Linked DNA regions of Homo sapiens: region 1 is linked to region 2. Evidence: promoter capture Hi-C in 16 types of primary human blood cells and fetal thymus (Javierre and others, 2016). All regions are on one chromosome and are shown on one strand. Each heading gives the region's core, a stretch centred on a gene start or on the middle of the fragment in contact. The rest is flanking DNA. Distances are from core to core; before and after follow the strand shown.

Region 1 (7,280 bases), core at 2,615-5,114, 470 kb after region 2:
TCTCAAGCTCAGGGATTCTTTCCTCAGCTGTGTCAGGTCTAATAAGCTCATCAAAGGAATTCTTCATTTCTATTAGAATGTTTTTGATCTCTAGCATTTCTTTTTGGTTCTTTCTTGGGATTTTCGTCTCTCTGCTTACATCACCCATCTGTTCCTGCATGCTGTCTACTTCACCCATTACAGCCCCTGGCATATTAATTGTAGCTCTTTTAAATTCCTGGTCTGATCATTTCAACGTCCCTGCCATGTCTGGTTCTGATGCTTGCTCTGTCTATTCAAATTATGTTTCTTGCCTGTTGGTATGCCTTGTAATATTTTTCTTGATAGGCAGACATGATGCACTGGGTAAAAGGAACTGCTGTAAATAGGCTTTAGTGATATGATGGTGAGGTGTAGGGGACGGGAAATGTTCTGTAGTCCCATCAACAGGTCTCCGTCTTTTAGTGAGCCTGTGCCTCTGGACTATGAACATCACATGTGTTTCTCAGCTTTTTTCCTCCCACTTAGGTGAAATAGGATGGCTAGAGGGAGCCCGAGTTGGATATTTCTCTCTACCAGTTAGGTTGGGCTCTGATAATACCCCAGCAGGTTGGGCTCTGGTTAACTTCTTACTCCTGAAGGGTAGACATTGTTAAAAAGTACATAGTGCCCCAGGGTATTTTCAAATGGTTCCTTTCCACCTCTTCCTGCTGGAAGCATGAGGGGGTTTTCTCTGATATTTACTGTGGGAATGGTGGTTGAGCTCCTGAAGATAAACATCACAAGACTGTGGGGGCCCTTCTATGAGTGGGTCCCCCTGGAGTTCTTAACTGTTAGGCTTGTCCACACTGAGCCTCTGGCCAATTTGTCAATGAACAGTTCAGGTTCTCCTACCCAACACTGCTTCCCTTGGTTGTTTCTGCCCATGAGTCTGCTCTGGTAAGTTGTGGCTCCCTGTATTTATCTGTCTTTCCCATCTCGGGGCAGCATTTGCCCGTGTCCTCACCTCTCTTATGGATCCAAGAGCAGTTGTCCATCAGTCTGTTCAGCTTTTTTCTTGTTAGGATGGAGTGGCAACTTCCAAGTTCCGTACATGTGCAACCAGAAACAAGAAGTCTATCGAGACTTTATATCTTTACATCTTTAAATATTTTAACATTATCTCTAAAAAACAAGCACAGTTTAAAGCTAATGGCAATACTGCTGTCATACTCAAAATTAAAAAATTCCTTAATATTGCCGGGCTTGGTGGCTCACGTCTGTAATCCCAGCACTTTGGGAGGCCGAGGCGGGTGGATCATGAGGTCAGGAAATCGAGACCATCCTGGCTAACACGGTGAAACCCTGTCTCTTTTAAAAATACAAAAAATTAGCCACGCGTGGTGGCAGGTGCCTGTGGTCCCAGCTACTCGGGAGGCTGAGGCAGGAGAATGGCGTGAACCCGGGAGGTGGAGCTTGCAGTGAGCCAAGATTGCGCCACTGCACTCCAGCCCGGGCGACAAAGCGAGACTCCGTCTCAAAAAAAAAAAAAAAAAAAAAAAAAAAAATTCCTTAATATCATCAAATTCCCAGTCAATGTTCAAATTTATAATTGCTTCAAATGTCATTATCTTACAGTTTACTTGAATCAGGATCCAAATAAGGTCTCTATATTGCCATTAGTTGAAACAACTCTACTAACTTAAATGTCTATGCTCTATCTCTCTTTTTTTTTTTTTTTTTTGATGGAGTCTCACTCTGTCACCCAGGCTGGAGTGCAGTGGTGCTATCTGGGCTCACTGCAACCTCTGCCTCCCAGGTTCAAGCGATTCTCCCCGCCTCAGCCTCTCAGGTAGCTGAGATTACAGGTGCACACCACCATGCCCAGCTAATTTTGTATTTTTTGTAGAGATTGGGTTTCACCATGTTAGCTAGGCTGGTCTCGAACTCCCGACCCCAGGTGATCTGCCCGCATCGGTCTCCCAAAGTGCTGGGATTTCAGGCGTGAGCCACTGCACCCGGCCTATTCTCTTTCTTTCATGTGAGAATCCCAGTTCTCATGACACTGGGGTGGTAGAATTAGAAGATCATACAACTACTCATTTGCTGTATTCTACAGTGTGCATGTGCGTGCACACACACACACACACACGCACACGCACACACAATGTTTCAGAGTAACAATACCAACACTACACCAATAATAAGATTATAGAAAAGAGTTTATGATTTTTGGGGGTAGTTTTCCTTATACATTAAGGATATTTTATAGGGATGAATAGTCAAATCAATTTTGTTTAAAGTCACTTGGAGTTAGTTACTATCTGTTTGATTATGGGACCAACTTGCTACCTATTTAGGTTACATGCAGTTTGAATATTCACCAGTAAACCTAGGAATAATTATCACTGTTCAGAAAATCACCAATAGTTACCGAGCACCTCCGAGGTACTAGAAATGTTCATGATCATTGTTACACTCAAGTCTTGCAAAGCCCTATGAAATAGAAGTTACTTTTCCCTTATAATTTAGGAAACAAACTCAAAGAGGTTAAAAGCTTACAGTGAATCAGTCTCACAGCTAGTAAGAAGAATGAGTGAGGTAAGATTGAAATTCCAGTCTCTGGAGTCCATATTCTGCCCTTAGAAAGATTAGGATGATTTATGATAGCTTATAGAAAAAGCTGCTGGTTCTATTTATTTTATTACCTCTATATATTCCAGTAGGGAGACAAGGTGGTAACTGATAACTGTGTTATACCTGATTACAAAGGTGATAATTTTTTTCTTACAGATTTATGCTCAGAAACAGTGCACCTGACAGTGTTAGCTGGTTTTCTCTAACTTCTTTTTCTGGGGCAATTCTCCCAATGGGTTTGAATTTTTATGAGCTTACTGATGGGCTTAAAAGGGTGGCCTTCAATATTTCCTTCCATTCAGGGCCTATTGTGTCCTGGGCTTCAAATTCACAGAGGCCCTTAAATTTAGAATTTGGACCTTACATCCATCCCAAAGAGGTTCTATCTGTGATCACAGAGATAAACCAACAAGGACAGAAGAAAGAGATGTGCAACTTACAGCTTCAGCGTTGGATCCCATTAGTGGAAGGCACTGCTGGTAGGTAGAATACCATCATTATGGTATTCACAGGATATTTACAGGATTTATAAAAGTAGTGATGAATCACTGATCTCACTTTATTTTTTATAAATCCTGTAAATATCCTGTGAATTCCATAATGATGATGAATTATATATTTTGATGGAGTTTAAAAAGTGTCAGCTTATTAAATGTAAGCATCTCAAATACATAATGATTTTTGTAACCCTATTTTATCATTTCTATAATGTCTAAAATATCAGGAGTTGCAAGCAATGGAAGTATCTGGTGACTTAGGGCAGCTGAGAAGCTCTGTCTGCTTCCACTTGGCCCTGAGCACTTCTGTGGACAAAGCACTCTGACCTGACAGGGTGCTGGTTACACATTGGCTGAGTTTGTGGCTATTTCTAGGGAGCAGAGTCTGGCTCTTTCCTCATTTACCTGTACAATAAGAATACCCGCCTGACAGGGGAGAGGTGAGGATTCAGTAAGCACAGCACAAGTCTCTAGTAAAAGAAAGCTGTCATGAGGATGATAACAGTTAATGAGAACATGTTGTTCAGGAGGTTTTAAAGGGCAGATACAGCATGATCCTGATTTTTAAGAAAATTAGATATAAAAACATGGGCACATGAAAAAGCCCCAACAGGCTACAGACTGAAATATTTATAATGGTAGTGGGAATAAAGGTGAATTTTGCTTTTTCCATGTATTTGTCTGTTTTAATTTTTTCGCAATATACTTATACTAAATGATGATACTTATTTTGTTTATGTGGATATACATAAATCTACAGACATACAAAATTATGGATAATTTTTCTTTTGTCTTTCTAAATTTATAAAATTTCTCACTTAAATATGTGCAAGTTCTATAATTAGAACAAAGAGATCAAAGGCATTTTTAAGACAAGGAGAAGCAGCTGGGTATCATGGCTCATAATTGTAATCCTAGCACTTTGGGAGGTCAAGATGGGAGACCACTGGAGCTCAGGAGTTTGAGACCAGCTTGGGCAACATAGGGAGACTGTGTCTCTACATAAAAGCAAAAAACTTAGCCAGGCATGGTGGCATGCATCTACAGTCCCAGCTACTTCGAAGGCAGAGGCAGGAGGATTGCTTGAGCCCAGGAGTCGGAGGCTGCAGTGAGCTGAGATGGTGCTACTGCACTCCAGCCTGGGTGACAGGGTGAGACTTCATCTGTAAAAAAATGATAAAAGACTGGGAGAAGAGCCTGGCTGGGTTTTAAGCCTACCTGGGGACATGGCTGCATTGTTTCTGAGAAACACAAAGAGCCTGCTCAGCACCTGCCATCATCTCAACCAGAAAGCCCACTCCAGATGCTGTCTTGTCAGTGGCTCAGTCAGTGCACCTTTGATTTATGATGAATTCCCCAGTGTTTACAGACTGGTGAATGCAGAACAATTTCTCCCCATTAGAAGGAGTCATGGTGTGGCAAGTTCAGATTAGTTTCTCTTCTATGGAGTTTCATTCTTTCATGAAATGTGGTCTTGCTTCACACTGTGAGGGAGTTTGGTGCCTCTCTCGGCCTGGGTCACCTGCTAGTGTGTGTTTGGCACTAGAAAGAGGCTCTCAGGGAAAGGGTTCCTGACTGCATCCTTCCTTCCTTGCCCCTTCTCTCTCTCCATGCTCTCCAAGAAAATATTTACCACCCTTGAGGCCTCCTACTACCATTAGGAAAAAGATTGATAAAACGATGACTTTAAAATTAAGAAGTTCTGCTTATCTAAAGAGTTCATAAAGAGATTAATAACACAAACCACAGAATAGAAGTAGAAGCTATTTGGTAATACATATAACCAACAAAGGACTCTTATCCAGAAAATACATGTTTAAAAAAAAACACTAAAAATTATTAAGTAAGACATAACCCAACAAAAATTCCAGAAGTGGTGGGCAAGGCCAGAAACTCAGACAAATGATGTTGGTACCAAGACCAGGCTACACAGTGGCTGGACCAGCAGCTGGTAATCATGCAGACCCATGCTCAGCCTTTTCGCAGCGAGATGGAGCAAGTGCTGTGAGTGCTGGAGATGTTGGCATGCTGAGGATCTTACAGGCAGAGGATCCAAAGAGCTCGCTAGAACTGGTCGCAGAAGCCCCAGCCAGATTCTTAATGCCTTTAATTTTCCAGGGAAGAAGCTTCTCCATCACTGAACTGTTTCCATATTATAGATACTGTAATATCTATGGGTTTTCCTAATACTCATCTTTGTATTAGCTGGCGTTTTTACCCAACCAGGAAAGGAGTGGAGCCATGAAGCAGTGAGTGCCCAGAACTGGAAGAATTCTGAAGGAGATGGGACTGTGGACCATGTTCTCTCTCAGGCTAACATCTTAATAACAGCCTACTCTGTTCCAACCAGAAAGAATGAGAGAGGAAGGGAAGACGAACAGACAGAGACAGATGGACACATACTTATGAAGTGCCCACTGTGCTCAAGGAATTTGCTAGGGGCTTTCACATTTGTTGTTCACTTTGCTTCTTGTAACACTCCATTCTGTTGATGAGACGGGAGCCTCAGGAGAAATACATGGCTTGCTCAAGTTTAGTTTGTCAGTGATGTAGTTGGGATCTGATCTCAGGGTCTGTCTCATTTTTTTTTTGAGATGGAGTCCTGCTTTGTTGCCCCAGTTAGAGCGCAGTGGTGCAATCTCGGTTCACTGCAACCTCCGCCTCCCTGGTTCAAGTAATTCTCCTGCCTCAGCCTCCCAAGTAGCTGGGATTACAGGTGCCTGCTACACCACCTGGCTAATTTTTATATTTTTAGTAGAGACAGGGTTTCACCATGTTGGCAGGCTGGTCTCAAACTCCTGACCTCAAGTGACCCGCCCGCCTCAGCCTCCCAAAGTGCTGGGATTACAGGTGTGAGCCACTGCGCCTGGCCCTGTGACTCATTTTTCTAATTCCATGGCCTTGGAATCAGGTGTGTGTGAGCTTGGGTAATTATTTACCTCTGTGAGCTCAAGGCCCCTCTGTGAAATGATATCTGGCTAGTAGGAGCACCCTTGCAGGACTCTGCGCATGATGTACAGTAGTTGGTTTTACTGTAAATGTACTCAAATCCTTAGCACAGGATCAGGTACACTGAAGACAGTGAAGAGAAGGGAGTTAAACACTTTTGAAGTCATATTTTCTTTTCTCAGGTTCAACCACTCTGCTAGGAGAGAAAGGCAGAGAACAGGATAAGAAGATTGAGAGAGAGAGGTTGATTGTGAGGACGTAGTGTCTGGGACACATATATTTGGTCACAGAGTCATGACTTGAGGGGTGGCACGCTGAGAAGTTGCCTGTCTTACTCTCTGAGACTGAGCAGCTAAGATAGAAGGCTGAATATTGACTTGGGACAATACAGTCATGAGTTGCTTAACAAGAAGCCTATGTTCTGAGAAATATGGTGTTAGGCAATTTCATCACTGTGCAAACATCATAGAGTGTACGGTACTTACACAAACCTACACAGCATAGCCTACTACACACCTAGGCTGTATACTATAGCCTATCACTCCTAGGTTTGTAAACCTGTACAACATGTTACTGTACTGAATACTGCAGGCAGTTGTAACACAATGGTAAGTATTTGTGAATCTAAACATATCATTAAAAGGTACAGTAAAATATGGTATTTATAACATATTTTATAAAAATATGATGGTTTCTACCCTGGACTAGCTAAGAGATCTGAGGCTAGCAACTGTCCACAAACCTCCTCCCTCTTCCCCCAACCAAAGCCAAAAATATCTTACCCACCATTTCTTAAAACAAAACAGCCTGCAAAACCATTCAGCATTCTGCAGTAGAAAACACAAAACTCAGGTTGCCCCATTGAAGAAGGCCAGAAATCTTTGGAACATCACCCACTTAGGAGCATCCTGCCTCTGCTATTCACTGCCAGAAGTTATTTTACAAAGCCAAGCTTCTGTAGACCGTTCACAGCATGGGCTGGCCTTAATGGAGAGCTGGGCAAGGAAAATTCCCTCCTTCGAGCCTGGGCTGAGGAAAACCTCACCTGAGGAATGAGGGCCATTCTTGTTTATTATGATTGAATCACTATGCATATTACTTTCATATGTAATGCATTTGCCATTCTGAAGTATGCAGTGGGGATGGGGGTACTCCCACTTAGCCAAATCAAAACCCAGGTCCCAAGATTCTCAGTAGAAGAGATGGGCTCCCTTCACTCGGGAGGTCCCAGGGTGGCTG
Region 2 (6,706 bases), core at 3,528-6,027:
AGAAAACTGAGGCCTGGGGGCTTATCCCAGAGTCACCCAGGTAGAAAGGATTTGCATCCGGGCAGTCTAGGTCCTAAGCCCATGCACATGCCAATTATTTCTGCTGCTTGGTGAGTGCTTCAGTGAAGGAGGAAGTGAGAGGCAGCAGGGAGGGGGTTTGGCCTCACTGACTTTTTCCTCCAGGTGGGATTTCACACGTCGTGTGACTCAGATCTTAAGTATATAGTATGAAAACTCTCCATGGAATTTTTTTGCAGCTCACTTATTTTAGATTTACAAGATGACCAGCACCAGTCTCCTCCTCTCCTTCTCCTGTCAGTGGTAACAAACTTAATGGGCATTTGACAAAGAATTCACACAGTTAGGATCTGCATGATGGGGTTGTGGAGGGTCGCCCTTGGACCACAGCTCCTATAGAAAGCACTCCATGCTGAAGATGTGTGGGTGTCTTTGGAGCTCACAGCTGCTTAGGGAAAAGTTCCAAATGGCTATGAATCCTTGGTGGTAGCCTACATACAGTTGGTGGGGAGTGGGTGGGCCTGGAAGGGGACTTCAGTGATGAGGATCAGCAGAGATACCATTTTTGAACCATATTAGAGGATTTTTAAGGCTCATTTTGTAGCTGACCTTCCCTGAGTCAGCCAGAGCCCATCACTGCCTGGGGAGGGTTATGATGGATCCTAGAACAATGTTCGACTTTGACCCCCAAAGTAAGCTCTGGAAGCCCATGGTGAGACAATAACACCCAAAGTCAGGCATTGTGGAGAAGAAACAGGGGCTTTTAAAATTCCCCAAATTCCCTTCTGCATAGCAAGAGCAAAGCCAGCTCAGCTTAGAACATATTTTTATCCTAAGTGATAGGAGCTGGGGGTGTTGGTGGAAGGGAGGGAGAATGCAAGGGAAGGTCCCTGCTGTTAGAAGAAGGAAGAGCTCCCCACTACAGGAGGGTGGAAAAAGAGGTTCAGAGAGGGCAAGGTTGAGAGGTAAGATACTGTCTGAGTTCTTCCAGGGCTCACAGCCCTGTGTGGATGGGCTGGGAATGGTGGGAAGAGCATGGAGATAGACATCCCCTCTCTGGGGGTCCACTGTGGGGTAGAGATGGGGTCATGGTGAGTAAGCAGAAAAAGAGTGAGACTCCAGGGTCTGCTTGTGATATGGAAAGATCCAGAAGCTCCTCAGCTAATGGCAGCTGAGGGGCTTGGCTGTCAAAGTGGGCAATGGGGTGGCAAAGTGACAAACTTTCCCTTCTTCCCTGCTCTCCACTGGGAAGGAGAGGCTGGGAGCAAGTCTTGGACCTCTGGAGCCTTTGTACACCTGTGGTGTCTAGCACTGTGCTTTTCCACAGGTTGCTTTCTGTTGGGTAGGACCCCTACCCACAAGGGCCATGTTGCATGGTATGGGCCTTCTCCTTTTCCACACCACAATACACCCACATCAAGAGCATACTGACTTCAAGACAGCCCCGATGGTAAACAAACAAACAAAACAACAACCCTGAGTTCTTATTATGATCAAGAGTTTGGGCCAGGGCTTTGCGGGAGGGACTAGGAAAGTCTTCACTCATTTGGGGCCCTGGCATGTATGTCTCCTCTGATTCTTCAATGTACTTCCTCTAAACTTCTCTTGAGAACTTGAGTTTGAAAGTTATATCTCTGTGTCCTTAGATCCTGAATAGTCAATATCTTGAGTGCTACTGCTGCTGCTGATGATGTTGGAGAAGACAACCTCCTTGAGTGCTTAATACATGCCTGGCACTTTCTAAGCATTAATCTTTGTGATAACTCTAAGTTCTATTATTACCCCCACTTTGTAGGTGAGGAAACTGAGGCACAGAGCCATGGAGTAACTTGCCAAGAGCACAGAGCCCTAACCGGCAGGGGCTAGGCCAATCCCAGGCAGTGAAACTCCAGGGCCTCCACCCTTACGCTGTGTCTGATCTCACTTTGTGTCTTTATGGGGCCTGGCAGATAACAGGTGCTCAGCAAAGATTATGCTTCTAAGAATCATCACCCTTCCTACAGATAGGTTATGACTGTAAAGCTCTGGTCAATGGATCTCTCTCTTTGGACTTGATTACTTTTTTTTTAGGCTTTCCTGTTAGTTTTGTCTACCCCATCACGCTGTCCAGCCTGCAGCTGGAGCTCTGGGAGAGTAGATGCTCTGAGGTCTCACCCTCAACTTGGCCTCTGACAGGTTCCCTGCCCAGCCAAACTGCCATCACCAGTAGACAAGCTTCCTGGTAATCCTCACATTGAATTCATGTGATGCATGGATGAGGTATCAACATCAGTCCTGTCCTGGAGCCTGAGGAGTGAACCCAATGATCCCTGAGACCCTTCTAGTCTTCAAAGTCCACACTGACCAGAGTGGTTTTAAAATATTCATCATCTTCTTTAACTAGTCTCAGAAAATAATACTCCAAAATATGAACATTCCCACTTTCAGGCCCATGCACACTCTACACACTTTTCCAGGGCCAGTTCAAATGATATCTCCTCCTCCAGGAAGCCTTCCTTGCTTATCTGGCTGAAATTGAACTTCTCTTGTTTGAACACCCAGCCCTTGGTTTCCCCAAGCCATTCACTCCCTGGTGCCTCTGTTTAGCTTTCCCTGGCCTTGGCTTATTCTCAGTTACAGGCAGGACCCAGATTGCACACACGCTAGGGCCCCACCCCCAGCTCCTTGCAAGCAGATGTCATTGTTCCAACATTGATTGATATGTTTAATGAATCCCATATTTCAAGAATGCAACTGACCAGACATAACTCAGGAGTGGTTTTCGCCATATAAGCGGAGCTCTGAGTCACAAATCCTGTGTCTTCAGAGGTCCTTTAATGTCATTCTCTGCCCCCTCCTCCTTGAGTAGCAACAACATTAACAACCATTGATTAAAGCCTACTGTGCACCCAGCCCTGTGTTAAGGGCCTTTCTTACAGTGCCTTAGTGCATCCTGACAACTTTACAGGACACGGAATTTGTGTCTCCATTCTTCACATAAGGAAACCTGTTGGAAAGGTCGCATAACCAGTCCAAGATTGAACAGCTAGCAGGGTGCAGAGCCAGAAGTGGAAGCCAGGTCTGATTCCAAAGCCATTGCTCTTAGCTTCCTGAGGTCCAGGCTGTCCCTAGCCCCTAAGGCAGCCACTCCTTCCCAAGGTTCTGATGCAGCCACCTATCTGGAGTCACACAGGAGTGCGTCTCTTTTCTTGTGGCTGGATCTCCTAGTGATATGAGGACAGTTCCTGGAGAAGATTCTCCCCTCCTGTCTAAACACACCTAAATGGGCTTGGCCTCCTCCCGCAGCTGGCTTCTAGTTGCATATTGGCCTGGTGGCAGTTCTTCCCCTGCTCTCCCTTCCAAGCCCCCACAACTCAATGTATCAATGATTGTTTTAAACTGTGACTCTAGGATTCCACTAGCCAGAGGCCCTTTCAACCATGGGCCCTCTGAGAAGCTCCTCTGTAGGCCGACAGGAGGGTGGACTTGCTTCGCGTGGTACCCGGGGACTGGGGCAAGCGGCTGCGGGATAGGGGTCTCCACCTGAGCTCCCTGAGGGCACCTCTCCCACTACCACCGCATCTGACCCCCACTACTGGCCCCAGCTCGGGCCTGGAGCCCACGCAGAAGGGGAGGCAAGGTTGAGCGCCCACACCCGGCCAGTAACCGAGGCGCTGGCCCTTGCCGGAGCACTTGGCCGTCTTCCGCAGAACAGCATCACTGGCAGCCGCCCCGCGTGGAGGGTGGAGCCGGGGAGCCCGGTGTGGGACGGCCGGGGCCAGGGTACCCTAGGGCGGAGAGCTCAGGGCTGGCTTCCCGCTCCCAGCCGCGCGCCCCTCGGGCCGGAGGTTCCTGCCGCGCCCCGACACCTGGAGTGCATTAGGCGGCGGCGCGCGTCTAGGCGACGGCGGCTTTCCCCAGATTATTGAATAATTGCATAATTCCGAGCGCGGGTTGGGAGGCAATGCCGGGTCCCTACCCCGGGTGTCAGGTAACGTTTCGGGGGTCCTGCGCTGCGCGACTGTGTCCCGCCGCTGCTGGCCGGGCAGACGAGAGCTAGCCCCCGCCTACCGGCCATCGCCCCGGGGCTTTGCTCTGTCTTTGGCCGGAGGCACTCTGCGCAGCCCTCACCCCCACCCTTCAGCCCTCCGGGGCCGCCGCGCCCGGCTCTCCAAACTTTGAGATGCTTCCCCGGAGCCAGGCAGGAGGGCAGCCAGGGCACACTCTCTTGGCGCTGATTCCCTTCCCCAGCCGGGGCCGTGCGCCCTCGGCGCTCCCGGGACACCCGAGTGCCCCTGGCAGCCGTGCGGGAACCCCGGCATGGGCCTTGGAGGCACCTAAGGCGCCCAGGAGGGCCACCAGATCTGGGAGCTTTTCAACTCAAGCCTCTTCAACTCTTCCCAAACACACCAAAGAGTCCCGGCTTTCAATAGCCTTCGCACCTCCCTCTTTAGCGAAACTTGACTGAACCGCTAGACTGGGGCCAGTCCCTGGGGGACCCACGTCCCCAAGAGCAGCTGAGGTCTGACCCTGGGAGGAGGGTCGCGTCCCGATCCTGGCCGCTGGATCCAAGCCCCGAGGGCCCAGGGAGGGACTCCGAGAGGCAAGGGGAGGCAGAGGGTGGGCACCTACCTGGCCACAGGCTGAGCGCCCAGGCCACCACCAGGCCCCTGGGCAGGTCCATGGCCCGCGGCACGGCGGCTGGGTCCGGTGTGCAGCGGCGGCGGGGGGCGGCAAGCCAGAGCGGCAGCCTCCTCGGCGCGGCGCCTGCAGCCTGCACTGCGCGGGGCGCCGGGCTCCCTGACAGCTGCGGCTCATTCAGAGGAAGTGGGAGGGCTCGAGCGGAGGGGAGGGGCGCCGGACACCACTCCGGCTCGGGCTCTGGGCCAGTCTCGGCCGCTCTGCCACCTGGGCAGGCGGCGCGCTGCCTCGACGCGCCTGTGCAGCGCTCCTTCTCCGCCAACCCCACGTCAGCCTCTGGAGAAAACTCCAGAGAACCGCTCCTGGGAACCCCCTCACCAGTGTAGCACCGCACCGCCTCAGTCAGATTCTGTTCAGGAAAAGTGGTTTTTATTCCCATTTCCCAGTGAAAAGAGATTCACAAAACTCAGAGGGTACCCAAGCTGGCTCAGGAACACCTGCTGGAACGCAGGTCTCCCTTGGCCAAGTGAGTGGATGTCCCTCAAAGGTCCATTCTAAGACATCCCCGTGTCTCCCTGCACCCTGCGGCTTGAATTGTAGAGGCTAGTGTTTCTTCTGACCCTGGAATACATGCAGATTCGCCTCCACTGCCACTCCCTGAGCCTCCACACCTGAGGCATTCCAAAGCACCCAGGGACACCGTGCACCCCCTCTTAACCTAACGTGAAGCTCTTCTTTGTAACCCTGCCACCTTCTTTCCCTCTTCTAATCACTGGTAGTTAAATTCAATGCACATTTATCTCAAGAGCTTTAAATCCAGGCCCCGGACCTCCACCGCGCTTGTGGAGGCTTTTCCAGCAATGGAGGAAGCCGAGGCAGAGGGTAGGAAGGCCAAGATGCAGGGAAAGCCACAGCAGAGCGCCCTTCCCCCACTTTCTCAGGAAAGGCTTCCTTCACCCCCTCTTCCCGTCCCCACCAGGTTGAGTCCCAGACACATGCTGATATTCCCCAGCCCGCTCTCCCTCATTTCTCTTCATTGTGCTTAGTAGAGAAGCAAGGCATCAATTGGTGTGATCATTTAACTTTTCTCTCCTGTGCAGACTGAAAACACCATCAGGGTAGAAATCTCTGGTTCACAATGGAGTACTCAGCCCCTAACACCCAGGAACAAAGTAGGTGGGCGGGTGGATGGATGGGTGAGTACAGGTGGTGTGTGGGTGCACAAAGGATAGAGTTTTCTATCTGGGAGGTATTGGAAGGGCTTCCCAGAGGAGGTGATGTTCAGTCAGGGCCCCTGAAGATGAGCTGGAGTTTGAGAAGACCCAGGTTCACATAAGTGAAGTGGGCTTGTGCTCGTCTCCCAACCTCACTATCTTTCGGTTGGCTATCTGGGTTTTACTTCATCTTCACCTCACCCATTCAGCCACAGACTCGGGGAAGGTGATTCCGTCCCTGGTGTGTGTGTGTGTGTGTGTGTGTGTGTAAGGAGGCATGCGGTTCAGGCTGAAATGAATCAGTATGTTGCCCTTCCCAGCCCATCGTTTCAGAAAGGGCAATATGACAAAAGAAAAAGTTTTTTTGGGAAGCAAGCTTTCTTGCCTTTCTAAAAGAGCCCCTAGAACAAACAAACAAATGAACTAACTCTCTCTCCTCACCTCTCCCACTCCTGCCTCCTCTCCCAGCCTGGGACAAGGAACTTTGTAGGCTCAGAAGTTGACAGGGTCAGGGTAGGGAAGGAGGATCTGGCCTTGAGATGAGGTGGACACTGGATGACAGAATGGAGGATCTTGTTGAACTCCTGAATGAAGCCACCCCTTAACCCCACTCCCCTTGGGACTTATCAGTTATACGACAGTGAGTCCTCTTCACTGAGTTGAGTTTAAGCCAGCTGAGTTGAATGTAGAACACCCCTACAGCTAGGGAATGGGCTGCAGCCCACATTCCTGCCTTGCACAAATCTCCAGGTGCATCAGAACGACCTGGAGCACGTGCAAAGAATGCAAATTCCCCAAGGATCAGGGCATGCTGGTGGGTGCCCCAGGCACCTCTGACGTGTGGGTGGTCTGCA

What was found. Contacts are between HindIII fragments. The CHiCAGO score rates a contact against its expected background, and 5 or more counts as called.
Region 1: a contact is called between a fragment that was not itself captured here and the fragment with the promoter of ITGA11 in region 2, in 1 of 17 cell types (M1 macrophages). The highest score is 6.8, in M1 macrophages.

Annotation. Positions count from the first base shown.
Region 1 is chr15:68,893,746-68,901,025 of GRCh38, forward strand. No RefSeq gene overlaps it. Among named protein-coding and RNA genes, the nearest start is that of SPESP1, 33 kb to the right of the region's middle. The HindIII fragment of the contact is 2,703 bases long and covers 2,514-5,216 here.
Region 2 is chr15:68,427,386-68,434,091 of GRCh38, forward strand. It overlaps ITGA11 (integrin subunit alpha 11), which reads right to left and starts at 4,778. Exons shown (of 30, transcript NM_001004439.2): 1 at 4,630-4,778. The coding sequence starts at 4,681. RefSeq lists an enhancer at 3,179-3,938 and a silencer at 6,485-6,706. The HindIII fragment of the contact is 3,996 bases long and covers 2,231-6,226 here.